5 separate regions of the Homo sapiens genome follow, and all the other regions are linked to region 2. The links are contacts of gene promoters, found by promoter capture Hi-C in blood cells and fetal thymus (Javierre and others, 2016). All regions are on one chromosome and are shown on one strand. Each heading gives the region's core, a stretch centred on a gene start or on the middle of the fragment in contact. The rest is flanking DNA. Distances are from core to core; before and after follow the strand shown.

Region 1 (3,086 bases), core at 263-2,762, 7.9 Mb after region 2:
GGCTCACTGCAACCTCAGCCTCCCAGGTTCAAGCGATCCTCCTGCCTCAGCTTCCCAAATAGCTGGGATTACAAGCATGCACCACCATGCCAGGCTAATTTTCATATTTTCAGTAGAGACGGGGTTTCACTATGTTGGTCAGGCTGGTCTTGAACTCCTGACCTCAGGTAATCCACCCACCTCGGCCTCTCAAACTGCTGGGATTACAGGTGTGAGCCACCGCACCTGGCCAAGCTTGCTGTTGTTTAAGTGATTTTATAAGTATTTATCTTCTATAATTTTAAAGCAAAAATATCCTAAAAATCTAAAAGCATCCAGGTTAGTAAAATGTCAAGACTAAAAGTAATAATGTATCAGAAAAATCTATGAGGCTATGGGAGAAAAAATGACTAAATAAGAAGCACATTAAATTGAAGCCACAGTTCCTAGGACACCTCACTGTAGGAGATGAGCATGTACACATTGCAGGGGGGAAAGCAATTATATTTACCCCAGGTATGTGAACCACCGGTTACATTAATCAGAAACATCAATGATATAAGGTCAGCTAAACACAATAAAAACCTTCCTTTAAAAAAGTGAATTTCAAGGCCAGGCGCGGTGGCTCAGGCCTGTAATCCCAGCACTCTGGGAGGCCGAGGCGGGCAGATCACGAGGTCAGGAGATGGAGACCATCCCGGCTCACACAGTGAAACCCCGTCTCTACTAAAATTACAAAAAAATTAGCCTGGCGCGGTGGTGGGCGCCTGTACTACCAGCTACTCAGGAGGCTGAGGCAGGAGAATGGCGTGAACCCGGGAGGCGGAGCTTGCAGTGAGCGGAGATTGCACCACTGCACTCCAGCCTGGGCGACAGAGCAAGACTCCGTCTCAAAAAAAAAAAAAAAAAAAAAAAAGTTAATTTCAGTGGGCTAAGGACAAGAGTTTAAGAGTATACAGGATTCTAATTACTTTGAACAGAATTTGAACTTAAACAAATGTACTCCTAAATGTTGGGTTGAAGAAGACATGGAAGCCCAACAATCCTGTAATTCAATAGCTTCAGTGATATTCATCCATCTCTTCTTTCAAAGGGAGTTAACTCTCAAACCTTTTATCTGTTTCAGGGATATTTCAAGGTAATGTAACTATGGCTACTATGTAAACCAAATTTGAAAAACTTCCTCATAATAGACTAATAAACTGAAGCTACAACCCATCTCCCACTAACAACTGTTTTCCAAAGGGCTAGCATAGAATTACCATCATCAACAAACAACATTATCCTTGTACTATAATAGTAAAATGATTAAGTAATTTAAATGTAGGAAAGAAAAACTGGCTGCAACTTTAACATACTTTTTTGGGGATTTATGATAAATGATAGGTGGTGATTTTATTACAATTACAACATTGTAAATTCTGAAAACAAATGCAGTTGTTAGATAATTATACAGCCAAGAGAAATCTTACTCGTTTTTTTTATCTGAATTTTTGTCCTAAAAAGCCTACGATCCAATGGAATTAAGTGAGCTTATTTCACAGGCAAATATTTCATTGATACGTATATCATTTTGAGCACAAAGTTGGTTCAGTGTGTTCTAACTGAATGTATACAATTTTCATATTAATAGCAGAGCGATCAACAATATTTGCCAACTACCCAGTTTAAAACGGCTATTAAATGTTAAAATGTCAGTGTTCACATTAGTCTTCAATAATAAATTTACTGTTGCTTAAAAGTCAACTCAGTCACATTATTTTTTAGAATTAAACAAAAAATTCAGCTGACAAGGCAAAAAGAAATGGTCAATATTGACTAAGATAAAATTACCATAAAAATCATAATACTATTTTTAGTCACAGTCATCAAGATGAGACATTACTATTAGCAATTATCTACTTAAAACAAGCAAAAAATCAAATCTCTACTCAAACAAAAATCGGCTGTTGAGAAGTCACTTTAACTGTTCTACGTATCAAATACCAACAAATTTCTACTGTGTGGCTTTCAGAAATCTAACATTCTAAGTTTACTGAAAGCAGACAAAAAAGAAACAACCTGGTGGCAGGCAAAATCACAACCAGTTGCAGTCAAGATGGGATCTGTATGTGAGCAATGAAGGGAGGAGGGCAATTTATGCGTTCAAAATTTAAAATGCCAAGGTAGGGGGAAGAGAGAGAAATAAAGATATATAGCTCCATAAACAAAGGGAGAAAACCATGTTGGGTGGGAGGCAACCTAAAATTTCTGACAGTCCAGAATCAGCAAATCGAAGGCCTGTCTCAAACAAAACAGCTTCTCACGACAAACTTTGAAGTGGGCAAGGAGGATACATTCCTTTGCACCCACAAGAACCAACCCCTTGACCACTGGCACGCTATTACTGAGTCGATCATGATTTACCGAACGGCCCGGATGATGGGCAAAAAGAAGAGTCTGCTGGAGGGGGCCTAGGATTCCAGAAGCCTGGGGAGGCACACCCTAGGCTCGGGGAAGGAGAGAGGTGGAGAGGGGCTAGCACTCCTCACCGTGATTATCTTTCTGCCCGATATTGTGCGTGCGGATGAGAGAGGAGAGTCTCCTCACATCCCCCTTGAAGACGCACTCGTGCACCGGGTAGTGTGCGGGGCAACTGCCTCCATCCGCGACGACAGCAACGGGGTTGGTGCCGGCCAGAAGGGCCGGGGACTGGGAGTTGGCAGTCACGGAGGAATTGTGCAGCGGCAGAGCCGGGGCGCCGGGGGGATTGGAGGAGGCCGGAGCTGCCTTCAGCTGTAGCCGGTGGTGATGGTTACTGAAGATCTTATGACAAGCTTTGCCGCCCTTGCCAATCCTGCTTCTGGTAAAGGTACCGCCGAGGGCAGCCGCCGCTTCCTCATCCCCGGGCTCCAGCAGGTCCCCTTCTTCTTTGCTGGGCTTGTGGTCCCTCCGCAGTGAGCGGATCTTCTCCCCGGTCATCGCCGCCGCCAGGGGCAAGGGGGGGAATCGGGAGGCTCACCGCTGGCGACGGAGCTGGCGCTGCGGCGGCACAAGGCGATTAGAGCGGTGGCCAAGAGCCTCCAGCGCAGCATGAACTCCCACTGAGCCCCCGAGCCTGGGACAAA
Region 2 (2,840 bases), core at 218-2,717:
CTTCAGGACGTTTGTAACTTGCTGTTCTCTCTGCCCGCACCATTCTTCCCTCAGATTCCTCCAAGCTTTTTCATTCAGCTCTGCTCAAATGTCAACTCAAAGAGGTCTTTCCAGGCTATCGTATCTATCACTTATCTTAGCGTCACTTGTATCTCCCTCTCCAGAATGTAATGCTCCTTTATGACAGGGAATGCCTTTACATCCCTCGCGCCTTGAAAAATGCCTGGCACATAGTAGGCACCTTAAAAATACTTGATTAAATGGATTTGGGCTGAACGTATCCTGCTTAACTGCAGCACTTGAGCTGAGGTCACCTCACCAAAGCAGGCACACAAACACAAAAGGAAGCACACAACCAGATGAGGCCTGCCTGCCGCTCCTGAACCCTTTGGGAGGGCTCGCGCGGGAACCCTGGGAAGCTCCCGCGGCCGGAGCTGGGCCTGAAACTGTTCTTTCGTTTCCTCCTGCGGCCGAGAAAGGGAAGAGGTAAACAGGCGAAAATGAGGCGAGCAGGGGCTGAGGACCGGGCCTCAGCTCTACAGCATTCGCCTGAGCATGTATTGTTATCCGTGGCAGCGCCTTGTCTCATTGGATGGCCCTAGGCCTAGTGTGGCCGCGACTCCGAACTGAAAGCCCAAGCGCGGCGGCGTCCAGCCGGGCAGCCATTTTCCGAAGCTGCTCTCTTGGTAACCCCGCCCGGGCGCGTACGCACGAACGGAGGCGGGGCTTACCGCGAGGGCCTCGCTCCGGAAGCCGCACCCTCCGCGGCGTCCCACCGTCGAGGATTAACAAAACGCCAAACAAGATTTTAACAGTCGGCAGCGAAAGCGCGCACTCGAGCGCCAATGAGAGCGGAAGGAGGGGCACCGCGCCTGAGGAACACTCCGTATGTCGAACAATGATTGGCTGGAGCCCACCTTTCTTCTTTTTTGCTATTAGATGGGCTTGCTGCTCCCGCCCATCTAATTGGCTTTGGTCTAGGTACTTCTGATTGGCTTCCCCCGGGCGGTGGGAGGCGCGGTTTTGGGGATTGTTCATCATGGATTGGTGAATTTGGGCTCCTTCTCGAGGTGGTGGCCCATCCCGTCTGCTCTCTGTCCCGTCTCCCGACCCGTACGCTTTTCCCTCAACTCGCGCGCACGAATGGTTAAAAAAAGGGTGTGAGGCTCGAGCCCGCCAGCCAGGCCGCTAGCACCTCGCGCGCGCCCTCAGCGAGGACCCGCACGAGCTGCCCGGCTCTGTGCCTGCGTTGTTTGAAACTGTGGAACCCGTTAGGCTTTTGGGGAACTACAGTCCCAGCTGGCTCCGGAGCCCGTGCGTGCCAGGGGCGAGTGGCCGTCGCGAGACGGCTCCTGCCTTTCGTGTCTCTGCAGCGTGGAGACTGGAACCGGCAATTTCAAAGGACGCCACGTTCAATCGCAGCGCTGGCGCGGGCGGAGGCTAAAACACGGGGGTCCTGAGACTGAGGAAAACGCGCCAAGTTCCCCTCGGTGGCGGAGTGCTAAAGACCCTAGCGGTTCAGGCGTTCGGCGAGCGGGGCCGCTGCTTGTTGCGCTCCTGGCTCTCCCGGGGCGGGCGCAGATGGGCGCCGCTCCCGGGATGTAGTTGGTGTTGGTGCAAGACGGGAGCGAGCGGCGGTCGGGGTTCCCGCTCTTGGGAGCGGATGGTCACTCCCCCGCGGGGAGGGCGAGCCGACCAGATTTTCCTGGGGCCGGGGACCCGGCGGGCTCGGGGCAGGGACTCACCTGTCGCACCCACACTCATTCGGGTTGGACTTGCCGGCGTCACCGCCGCGGACTTCGCTTTGGGCCATGACCAGGTAAGGAGGGCCTGGGAGGAGGGGCCGGCTCCCGGGCGCGGGGGCAAGTTCGGCCGGCGCGGGAGAGGAGCTGCCGGGGAGACCCCGGGACCGTGTTGGCCTCGCACCCTGGTCGACCTGCCAGGGGGAGCCGTGTGTGCCTCGGGCGTGGCGCCTGTCTTGCCGCCGCCGGGACGCGAGAAGGCAGGTGCGGGCTGGGCGTAAATAGGCCAACTCCGCGGCGAGGGCGCCCGGCGCGGGGGTGTGGGCCGAGGACGCCGCCGCCAGCCTCCCCCGACCGGGCAGCCTGGTCGCTGCTCGTCCTTCCAGCTTTCTTTCCGTTCCCGAGAGCGGTGAAGGATGGGGAGAAAGAAACGTTTCCACGCAGGTTGCCCTGTGTCGGTAATTGCGAAATTTTACCGCGCATTTTCTTTCACTTACACTTTTTCAAGAAGTGTTTAGAACGCCGCGTGTCTTAAACCTTGGCGAAGATGTCCTTGTAGATTTTTGTTGAAAAATCGGAATCGAGTCGTGTCATCTTATAAAGAATTTAAAACTATTGGGACTGAGTGTTCACGCTGTCAACAGATAATGGTCGATTCGTCGTGCTTTCTGCGAAAGTTGATTTAGTTACAGGAGAAATATTTTGGATGTAACAGCCCCCCAGTTACAAGGAAAGCCAGGAGCAAGAAATAGCAAGGAAGATACTGCACCTGGCAAAATGTTACATTCTCGGTGTGAGCTTTGCTTTGAGGGGCTAGGAGGTTTGGTTTTTTGATTAAGCTGACGATCCGCTATTTCACCTGCCTAATCATTCTTCCCTTCTGTGTAGTCTGGTTACTCTGTCGGTTTGAGATCCAGTTTCTGTCATCCATTAAATTGGCTCTCGAGAAAAACCTTTTATCAGAATCATTAATGCTTGGCGATCCCTGAGAACTTAGCGCAGGTTGGTTTATCATTCAGAAGACAGCGCTTCCTCAGAAGCATTAGGTAGACAGGAGAGTAAGTGAAGTTGGAGACAGAATGGAGAGATGGATCAGCT
Region 3 (2,822 bases), core at 323-2,822, 8.0 Mb after region 2:
CGCCCACCTCGGCCTCCCAAAGTGCTGGGATTAATAGGCGTTAGCCAATGCACCCAGCCTAGTGCTGTCTTCTGAATGATTCTTTATTACAGTACACTAAATAAAATGTCTGTATTTATGCAACTCAGGGTTTGTCAGCAAATATTAGGAGGTAAAACTAATTGGAACTGTTTTAGACCCTTTTGGCCCCTAAATGCCATATCATATTACACAAAAATACCCACCTATAGTTATACATAAATATTGAGGTGAGTTGCAGTTGATGTTATATTTTTAAAAGAAAAATATTAATTAAATATGTATTAATATACATTAGTGTTTTGAAGTCTATCCATTTTTTCCCCCAGCCATACAAAGTTTGGTAGGATTCTAAAAGCTTGTAGGCCCTCAAGCACCACTCCTCTAGTGCTTAATGGGTTAAATGTCCCTAAAGCTAATTTGAAAAGCAAATTGCCTCATTCTTTCTCTTCATATCTTTCTTTCAAACTGTAAATTTTAAGAGCTGTTTATTCCTTATTCTCCTTGTTCTTAATTTGTTTAATAAAGTTTTAGATCTTTAGCGAATATTTTGCAACAACAGAAATATCCCCAAATTTCCTGGTGCTAGAAAACAGCCACAATAGTAAGTAGGTCAAGTCTGTATTGCTTAGGGAACAGGGAGATTTTTGTTTTAAAGCAGTGATTCTTCTGAGAGTAGGGCTCTGGGCGCAGGTGAGTGGTAAACAATCCTTTTTCCTGCAGGGATGTTGCTGTTGTGTAAAAGCAAAAGCATTTTGTGTAAGGATGTTAGGCTCCAGTAAGTATTTCAAAGCCACATTATCTTTCTCATTAGGGGGAGTTTCTCTCTGTACTTTAAAAGAAGATAATGATGCTTGAAAAAGCTCAAGATTGACTAACTTTTAGGAAGCTGCCAGAGTTGTGCATAGACGTCCTCACTACAGTAGCTTCGTTATGTCTTACGAACAATTTAACCTTCACTTCTAGTCATCGTTTCGTCATCGTAAGCACTGGGTCATTACAGAGTTCAGTGTACCTAAAACGCAAGCTGTGACTGATGAGAATCCAAGCTGCAAACTGGGCGGCTTGGGCAACTGTTTTCTTAACCACCCTCCACGTTGTGGCTTACGTCTTTTAGCACCGCCCTCAGGGCAAAGGATGGTGGTCAGAGGTAACTACCACAGTAAAAGAAGGCTATTTATGTGGTCTGTTTACAGTTACCCGGTTTCAACACTAAGCCAGCTTTCCGCCACGTCTCGGGCGAACCTCCGGCCTGAGGTCACAGAGACGCCCGGGTGGCTCTCAGGAGCCAGCATGGCAGCCTCCTCAGGACGGGTACTCAGGAATTTCGCCCGCAGGGACTAACACCACTTGGACCCAGGGACTCCAGCTTCACTCCGCTTTGTGCACTGGGTGGGGCGGTCGCGGTGACGTTTCAGGCAACGCCTCTGCTGTCAGCCAATAAGGAGCGGGAGACGCGTCGGGCCTGCGCTCAATGGGCCGCGCTGGTCCCGCCCCACTGTGATCGTGAGACTGCAGACCCGCTAATAAAATCCACCCCAACAATCGCTGTGTGCCGCTTTAGTGCGCTCGCCGTCGGCTCTACCTGCGTGCTTTAGCTCCTTCTCGCCTGATCCTTCTGTCTCTCCCAACCCCGGACACCCGGCTTCGACTGGTTATATCTTCGGTGTTCTTTTCCTCTCTTCTTCTTTCGCGGTTCAGCATGCAGGAAAAAGACGCCTCCTCACAAGGTTTCCTGCCACACTTCCAACATTTCGCCACGCAGGCGATCCATGTGGGCCAGGATCCAGAGCAATGGACCTCCAGGGCTGTAGTGCCCCCCATCTCACTGTCCACCACGTTCAAGCAAGGGGCGCCTGGCCAGCACTCGGTGAGCTGGGTCTGTCTGGGGCTGTCCACAGTTGGGCGGTAAAAGAGATACGGCTTATGAATTTGAAAGGCATGTAAGTAATTTATAATATGACTTATAAATTAGGAAGGCAACCGAAAGATGTTTCTACACTGTAATTCTTGCAGCACAGCTTTGTATCGGATGGTCCAGTGATCGTATTTCTTTTGATAAGCAGGACTGGAAGGAGCCGTTTGTCCAGCTTGCCATTTAGATTTGGCCTGAAATTCAGGTGATTTTGACAAATTTGCAATTAAAAATCGAAGGTCATAACTTTTTTGAGTTACCTTTAGCAGCATAAATTTTAAAGATGTAGTACGGAGTCAGCTTAAAAAATATTAAGGGTCTGATAACTTGACTAGAATTAAGATTGTTTCCAGTAGCTGTATGAATAGTTATTGAGTACCTACTATATGCCAAATACGTGCTCGTATATATCATGTGTATTACATGTATTGTCTCATCTAATCCTAACAACAACCCTAGTCTGAACCGAATTCTCATTTTTTCCCAATAAAGAAGCTGAGATTTAGGGAGTTAAGTAACTAGCCTTAGACTAGTAAGTATTGGAGATGGAATTCAAACTTTAGAAACTTGAGGTTGCTTTAGGAACCAACTCCTAGGCACTCAGCTACACTATGCTATCTCTAATAATGCTAGTAACAATTTAGCCTATTGCGTCATTTAAGCACTGTGGCTTAGTGATTAAGAACACAACTCATGACCGGGTGCAGTGGCTTACGCCTGTAATCCCAGCACTTTGGGAGGCTGAGGCGGGTGGATCACCTGAGGACAGGAGTTCGAGCCCAGCCTGGCCAACATGGTGAAACCCCATCTCTACTAAAAATAAATAAATTAGCTGGGCATGGTGGCGGGTAATCTCAGCTACTCGGGAAGCTGAGGCAGGAGAATCGCT
Region 4 (2,794 bases), core at 185-2,684, 5.2 Mb after region 2:
ATAGTTGAACTGATCTTCTCCTTTGATGTGGACAATGATCTAATACTGAAATAACAAGCATTATATTTCTTTCAGATGTTAAAGCATTGATTGTTTTTTGAAAGAAAGAAAGAATAATTCTGCATTATGGAACCAGTAGTAGGAATGTATGTAGGATAAGCATGACTAAAATATCAAAAAGATCTTTAATATGCAAAGCAAGTAGCAGTGCTAAAATAATTGAACAATTCTTGAGTATATATTTCCATATGATTTCTAAATATAATCATTTGGTATCTTTACAAACATTACTACAAGAGCATTCTACTCCTGTGTACTTGGCAGTTGTCAGAGTTACCTGTAGTGGTTTTTAAAATGACATCACATATTGGAGTTATCACACTGATTATAAAGAAATATATATATATATATAATATTGATATAGGAAAATTTCTCTGATTTACCATTGACTATCAATGTCCTCCAGGACTAATAAACAGTTAATGATAAATCAACTATGTCCATTCTAATGTGTAACTACAATCTAACTGTGTAGCTAAATGCAGTTTTTACTTCCAGTCATGAGGCCCAACTTTGAAGATAATCACTGAGAAAACATTCTAGGTATACTCAGCAATCAGGCAAAATGATGTAACGTATCTGAGTCAGAAAGTATGACAAATGAATATTTTTGCATACTGGAAGCCCAAGCTTATCTCAGAGAAAATCCCCAAAATACTTGGGCAAATAACTTTCTGATGAAGTCAAATATAGCATGCAGTATAATTTTTGAGTGGAGGACTAAGCCTATAATAAGAAGTAACCATTTGATATCACATTTTTACTGGATATAGTCGACTTGGGTGGGGCACTTTAGGACTGTGGTTCATTTGAATTGGTGTAAACAATACACCGGTTCTACTGTCCTACAGCCTCCATTCAGATGACTGAAGTCATGGGACTTTCAGCATAGCTAGCTGATGACAGTGCATACTATTTTGTCCCAAAATCCAGTTCAAGCATGGACATACCAATAAGAGCCTAAGCTCTTTAAAGGCAAAGGACCAGGAATTGTACAGTTCTTGGTATAGAAGAAGACAGGCAAAAGTGTTTTTGAACTAACGTTAAATGTGCAATATGTTAGAATTCATGCAATGCACAGGACTGCAGGATTCTGATATCTTATTTAACTCTCAAATTCTATTCAACTCAATAAACCTTGACTGTGCTTCTACTAAATGCAGGTATTGTACTAGGAGCTGAGGACACCAAACTGATGAAGTCCTTGCTGTCAAGAAACTCACATGATTCCCTAATTCTTTGTCAGCTTGCTGTGATCACATTTTCTTCCCAAGAACCTCTAAGAAATGCCTAGTGGATAGAACCTTGGAGTTCCACGGAACATATTAACAATCGCCAAATGATGACTCAGGCTAGATTGTGTAATTCAGGTTTTGTCTGCAAAACTGAAAATGCTTCGGTAACCTACCTAAATTTCAATGTTGAGGAATTCTTTAAGAAAGACATCAAATGTTAAGATTTAAGGCATAGATATGAGATACATAGTCATGCTTAGGTGAATTATGCACTGACCATGACCATTTCTTTACTCAAATGTTGTCCATGGCTGACAACACAGTGAAAAAATGAGTGCAAAATGACAACTCAAATAAATGAACCAGAAAACCTATCACTTTTCTTTTCCACCAAATTAAGATCAAGAGAGCTGGAGAATATTTTGTCTAGAGTGATAAAAACATAAGGGTGCAAAACTTCCAGGTACCTTTGCAGAAATTACTTCTGTGACCTTTGGCTGTACAGCAACCTTAATAATGCAAGCACTGTTTTGAATGCAAGCATGTGGGAGCCATTTTCACCACTTTTGATGACTTCAGTAGGTTTAAGAAATGTTTTTGCTTTTATTGCATAAACCATAAAACAAAGGAAGGGACTTTTGAACTACTCAGTGAGAGTCTATATATTAAAGTTTGTTTTTCAAAAATGTGTAACTACCATTTGCAGTTTTAAAGGTCTGCTTTCCACCTACAAGTTGCCATTATCTCAAAGGTGAAATTTTAGCATATGACTAAAAACTTCCTATAGTTACAGCTTCATGATTCAGCATCTAACATCAATAATTCACAGTGAGATCATAGGAGGCTCTCTGTGGAAGGTAACGACATACATACGTTAGGAAAGGAAGCTTAGGGCATATCGAGAGCATTTTGAATTTAGACTTGTGGGCTGTGTGGGTGTCAGATGGTTGTCTCTCAGCTGGTGGGCGTCCAGAAGGATCCTTGTTTGGGCAAGGCTCTTTGAGAAAGGAGAATCTGGGTTGCCAGGGATTCCCACATGTGGTCACCAGCTCCCCACGCAGACCAGCTCACGATTTCCCAGTTACACCGGGCAGGTGGGAAACCGTTCTGCTTTCTGTGGAAAAGATTCTAACTTGGTTCCCTGCCATCCCTGAATACAAACGGGTTGGTTTTTCTTTTTTCAGCTTCCAACCCTTGCAGCTTTCCAAAAATAAATCAAACCAGCCATCAGGGCACCGAAATAATACTACTGCTAATAAGCAGCTTCGCCTAGACTTAGATAAACAACACTTCTGAGGTAAACTTTGCCCCGGAGGTCTGGAGACACTTTTTTAATGTAACCTGCTTACTAATAATTACTAGACTTCAGTGCATTAACCCTGGAAATAGATTTTAATAGCCACCCCTTAAAACAAAAGACATGAAAAGATAATAAGAAAAAAGTGCCGCAACTATTATAGAAAAACACTTGGCAGCCTGCTTCAGCCCAAGCTGAGGCC
Region 5 (3,248 bases), core at 154-2,653, 7.2 Mb before region 2:
TTTCTCTCATTTCTGACCTTATCGATGACCAGTACTCCCTCTTTACCCAGACCTGGTGCCAGCTCTATCTTCCAATTCCAGTCCCCATCCCTGCCTAGACCCTCCTCAGCTCCCACCCCTGCCCAGGCCTCCCACCTCTGCCCTCTCAGTGCAATCCCCACTGCTCTCATACCTGATTTTATTCAAGTCCTCATTCCTGGCCGCGGCCCCTTCCCTCTTCATTTTAAATCCTACTCAATGCCCCCCCTTTCCGACCCTTGGCTAAAACCCCAACCTCACTCCTAACCCCAACAGTTTTCCTGTGATCCTGTCAAAGACCACTACTCTGGCCGGCCCACACCGCTTTTTCTGACTCTGAGCCTGGTGCCTCCGCCAATCCTTCACTGAAACCTCGTGCCACAAAATCTCCGACCTAGCCTAGTGCACTAGTACCCCATTTCCGACCCCCTACTGCACGCATCCTTCCCACTATATGCTCAAGTGTCTGTCCTCCCATCTCGGATGATAGCCCTGGAGCCTCCTCCCCATCGTCGGCGTGCATAGCCGGAAGCCTAAGGGACCCCTCCTCACCCCAACCCACAGCTCCGCTGCGCATCCCTAATTCCCTTTCACACGCCTCTCCTATGGGTCCCTCTCCCCACTTACCCCCAATCAAGTGACTTCGGTTCCCAACTGGAGCCTGGGGCTTCTCTCTCTCTCTCCGCCCCGCCCCCACTAAAGCCCCAGTCGAATGCCCTCTCTCCCCACACCAAGCCCAGCGGGGTGTGTCCCCTCCCAGGAACTCCAGCCCAGTGGCTTCCCACAGAGGTCTGGGGTTGCCCCTCCTCACCTCCGCGTCCACCACCTCGTGGTAGGCGGGCGGGGGGTCGAAGCCGCCCCCGCCTCCGGTGCTCCCGCCGCGGGAGGGGCCGCCGCCGCCGCCGTCACCTCCGCCGTCGCCCCGCGGGCCCCCGCCGGGCCCGGGGCTGGGGCCACCGCCGCTGTCCATGGGCTCGTAGCCGCCGTAGTCGAGGCCCGGCCGCTCGTTGGTGAGCAGTGCCACGGCCTCGTTAATGTCGTTCTTGGCCAGGCGCAGGGCCTTGCGGATGGTGGCGGGGTCTGAGAAGCCCATGCACAGCAGCGTGGTCATGTGCTGCTCCTCCTCCGATTCCATGGCTTGGGCCTCCTGGCCGCCCCGGCCAGCGCACGGCGAAGCTACGGGTCCCGGGCCTGGCGGGCCGCGCGGCGCACCCTCCGCGCCGCCTCCGCGCCCAGGTTGGCCCCTGCGTTCCTGCCCCGGGTGCTCCGCAGCAGCCGGGCCAGGCTGGGTGCGGGCTTGGGTCCTGCGAGCCGAGCTAGTGCGGTGAGGCGCTCAGGCGCGGCTGCGGCCCGGCCCAGCCCTGCGCGCCGCCATGTTGGCCTCCTCCCCCTCCGCCTCCTCCTCCCCGGGCGGCGGGGCCGCGCCTCGGCTCCCGGAAGCGGCACGGGAGGCGACCGTGCTCGCCGTTGGCAGGCTAGGGTTGGCGGCGGCGTATTCTGTTTGTTTTAAACGAAGGAGCGGAGGGAGGGGCCGCGCCGCGGAGCGTGCCTAAGGTGAAAGGGCTGCCGTGCAGCCAGGCAGAGGCGAGGAAGGCTTCTCCATCGTCGCCACCGCCCGCCTGTTTCGCCGGCAACAGGTTCCCCCGGGACGGGAGGGGCCGCAGCGCCGCGCAGCTCGCAGCGCTGAACGTCGCGGAAATCCCTTGGCCGGCCGAGCCTCCGCAGCCGCGACCCGGCTTCTCTCCGTCCGAGTCCCCCGAGCCTCTCCGAACCCCCGTTGGACTTCCCCTCCCTGGCCGGCGCCGCCCGACCCGCTCCCCCATCCTAGAGGGAATTCCCTGCGCCGCGGCTGTGAGGCACCTCCACCCCGGCCTGAAATGCACCGCAGTCCTGAAGGAAATCCACCCTCATCCCACGCAGATTCACCCGCAACGCTGCCTGAATACGCCTCGCTGCCCACAGAAATTCCTGCCCAAACCAGACGCGTGGACCACCCAAGACGAAATTCACACTCGACCCTAGCCCCGCCAGCCCTTGCCGAAATCACCCTAAACCCGTTGAAATTAATTCCCAGCTGTCCGAATTTTCCTTCCAACATTAACTGACTACCTGTCTCCGCCAAGCTGACTGAACTCTACCGAACTCTTACCCTGAAAGCCCCTGAGAGTCCAAAATATATTTTTCCAGCCCGAAATCTAAATCCCAGTTCTCTGTATGAAAACCTCCAGAAACCCAGACTCTTACTTCCTTCGGCCACGGACTCGTTCGAACATCGTGGACATCACCTTCCCACATTTTTACCGCAGTCTTTGGCTCCGATTCTTTGTCCCTGCCTCTTGGGCAGCATCCTATCCCTGTTTCTTTCCACCTTTGAGGATTCCTCTACCTCTTTAAAGGCCTGCTTTCTTTGCTTTCTCTTCTCACCTTTGGCATTGGCACACTGGGGTCATATCTTTAGTTCCCTTGACTCCACCATCTAAGCCAAGGGTGTCCAATCTTTTGGCTTCCCTGGGCTACATTGGAAGGAGAAAAATTGTCTTGGACCACATATAAAATATTCTAACGCTAATGGTAGCTGATGAAACTTTTAAAAAATCTCATCATGTTTTAAGAAGTTTACGAATTTGTGCTGAGCCGCATTCAAAGCCGTCCTGGGCCTAAGTCCTTGCTATTTTTCCTCTTCAATTTCCTTCAATCCATAGTTCTCTAGGTTATTTTCCCACCCTTTCCCAAGATTCGGATATCCCTTCATTCTTGCTGAGTTCATCTCCTATGCCTATTCCTACATACTTGCTGAGTTCATCTTCTAATGTCCTCATCCTGGTTTCTTCCTGAACCTGAAATCCAGCTAACCTTACTTTTTCATCCCATCAAACCCCTGCTGTTGCCAGCCCAGCACTCACGAAGATCTTTACATACACCAAATATTAAATTAGGGCCGGTACCTAGACATTGTCTCTGCACTCTGCTGGCATATTTTCCCCTGGACCACGAACCCTTCGTACCTAGTAACTTGCCACCTGTGTTTATAAATACCAGCAATTTGATTTACAGGGTGAATTTGTCACTATTGTTTACTTTTAAATGAAGTTACTGTATTTGTTGTTTCCATTAAAGGCGACATTATAAAGCCTAGGCCTCATATCCAAAGCAAATAAAGTCTCAATTTTTTAATTAAAAGTAACAAAAGGAAACCTCACACTTCTGAACAACAATGACAAGAAGGAATG

What was found. Contacts are between HindIII fragments. The CHiCAGO score rates a contact against its expected background, and 5 or more counts as called.
Region 1: a fragment that was not itself captured here is called in contact with the fragment with the promoter of USP1 in region 2 in 4 of 17 cell types (non-activated CD4 T cells, total B cells, total CD8 T cells and 1 more); the score reaches 7.9 in non-activated CD4 T cells.
Region 3: a contact is called between the fragment with the promoter of CTH here and the fragment with the promoter of USP1 in region 2, in 3 of 17 cell types (naive CD8 T cells, activated CD4 T cells and total B cells). The highest score is 13.1, in naive CD8 T cells.
Region 4: a contact is called between a fragment that was not itself captured here and the fragment with the promoter of USP1 in region 2, in 5 of 17 cell types (fetal thymus, activated CD4 T cells, non-activated CD4 T cells and 2 more). The highest score is 13.3, in fetal thymus.
Region 5: a contact is called between the fragment with the promoter of USP24 here and the fragment with the promoter of USP1 in region 2, in 1 of 17 cell types (non-activated CD4 T cells). The highest score is 5.6, in non-activated CD4 T cells.

What each region holds. Positions count from the first base shown.
Region 1 is chr1:70,351,469-70,354,554 of GRCh38, forward strand. ANKRD13C (ankyrin repeat domain 13C) reads right to left here. Exons shown (of 13, transcript NM_030816.5): 1 at 2,511-3,086. The coding sequence starts at 2,940. Among named protein-coding and RNA genes, the nearest start is that of ANKRD13C, 1.7 kb to the right of the region's middle. RefSeq lists enhancers at 1,661-2,860, 2,120-3,038, 2,994-3,043, 3,039-3,086, 3,084-3,086. The HindIII fragment of the contact is 2,561 bases long and covers 233-2,793 here.
Region 2 is chr1:62,435,582-62,438,421 of GRCh38, forward strand. It overlaps USP1 (ubiquitin specific peptidase 1), which reads left to right and starts at 1,468. Exons shown (of 9, transcript NM_003368.5): 1 at 1,468-1,819. RefSeq lists enhancers at 1-702, 385-734, 703-1,470, 1,295-1,364 and a silencer at 2,065-2,124. The HindIII fragment of the contact is 3,360 bases long and covers 64-2,840 here.
Region 3 is chr1:70,409,696-70,412,517 of GRCh38, forward strand. CTH (cystathionine gamma-lyase) reads left to right here and starts at 1,573. Exons shown (of 12, transcript NM_001902.6): 1 at 1,573-1,888. The coding sequence starts at 1,721. RefSeq lists an enhancer at 1,144-1,403 and a silencer at 1,464-1,613. The HindIII fragment of the contact is 3,560 bases long and covers 375-2,822 here.
Region 4 is chr1:67,682,112-67,684,905 of GRCh38, forward strand. No RefSeq gene overlaps it. Among named protein-coding and RNA genes, the nearest start is that of GADD45A, 1.7 kb to the right of the region's middle. RefSeq lists a cis regulatory region at 499-991 and a silencer at 2,754-2,794. The HindIII fragment of the contact is 1,492 bases long and covers 689-2,180 here.
Region 5 is chr1:55,213,961-55,217,208 of GRCh38, forward strand. It overlaps USP24 (ubiquitin specific peptidase 24), which reads right to left and starts at 1,404. Exons shown (of 68, transcript NM_015306.3): 1 at 830-1,404. The coding sequence starts at 1,153. LOC100507634 (a long non-coding RNA gene) reads left to right here and starts at 1,448. Exons shown (of 1, transcript NR_038320.1): 1 at 1,448-3,248. RefSeq lists an enhancer at 292-351 and silencers at 812-1,001, 1,072-1,581. The HindIII fragment of the contact is 9,819 bases long and covers 1-3,248 here.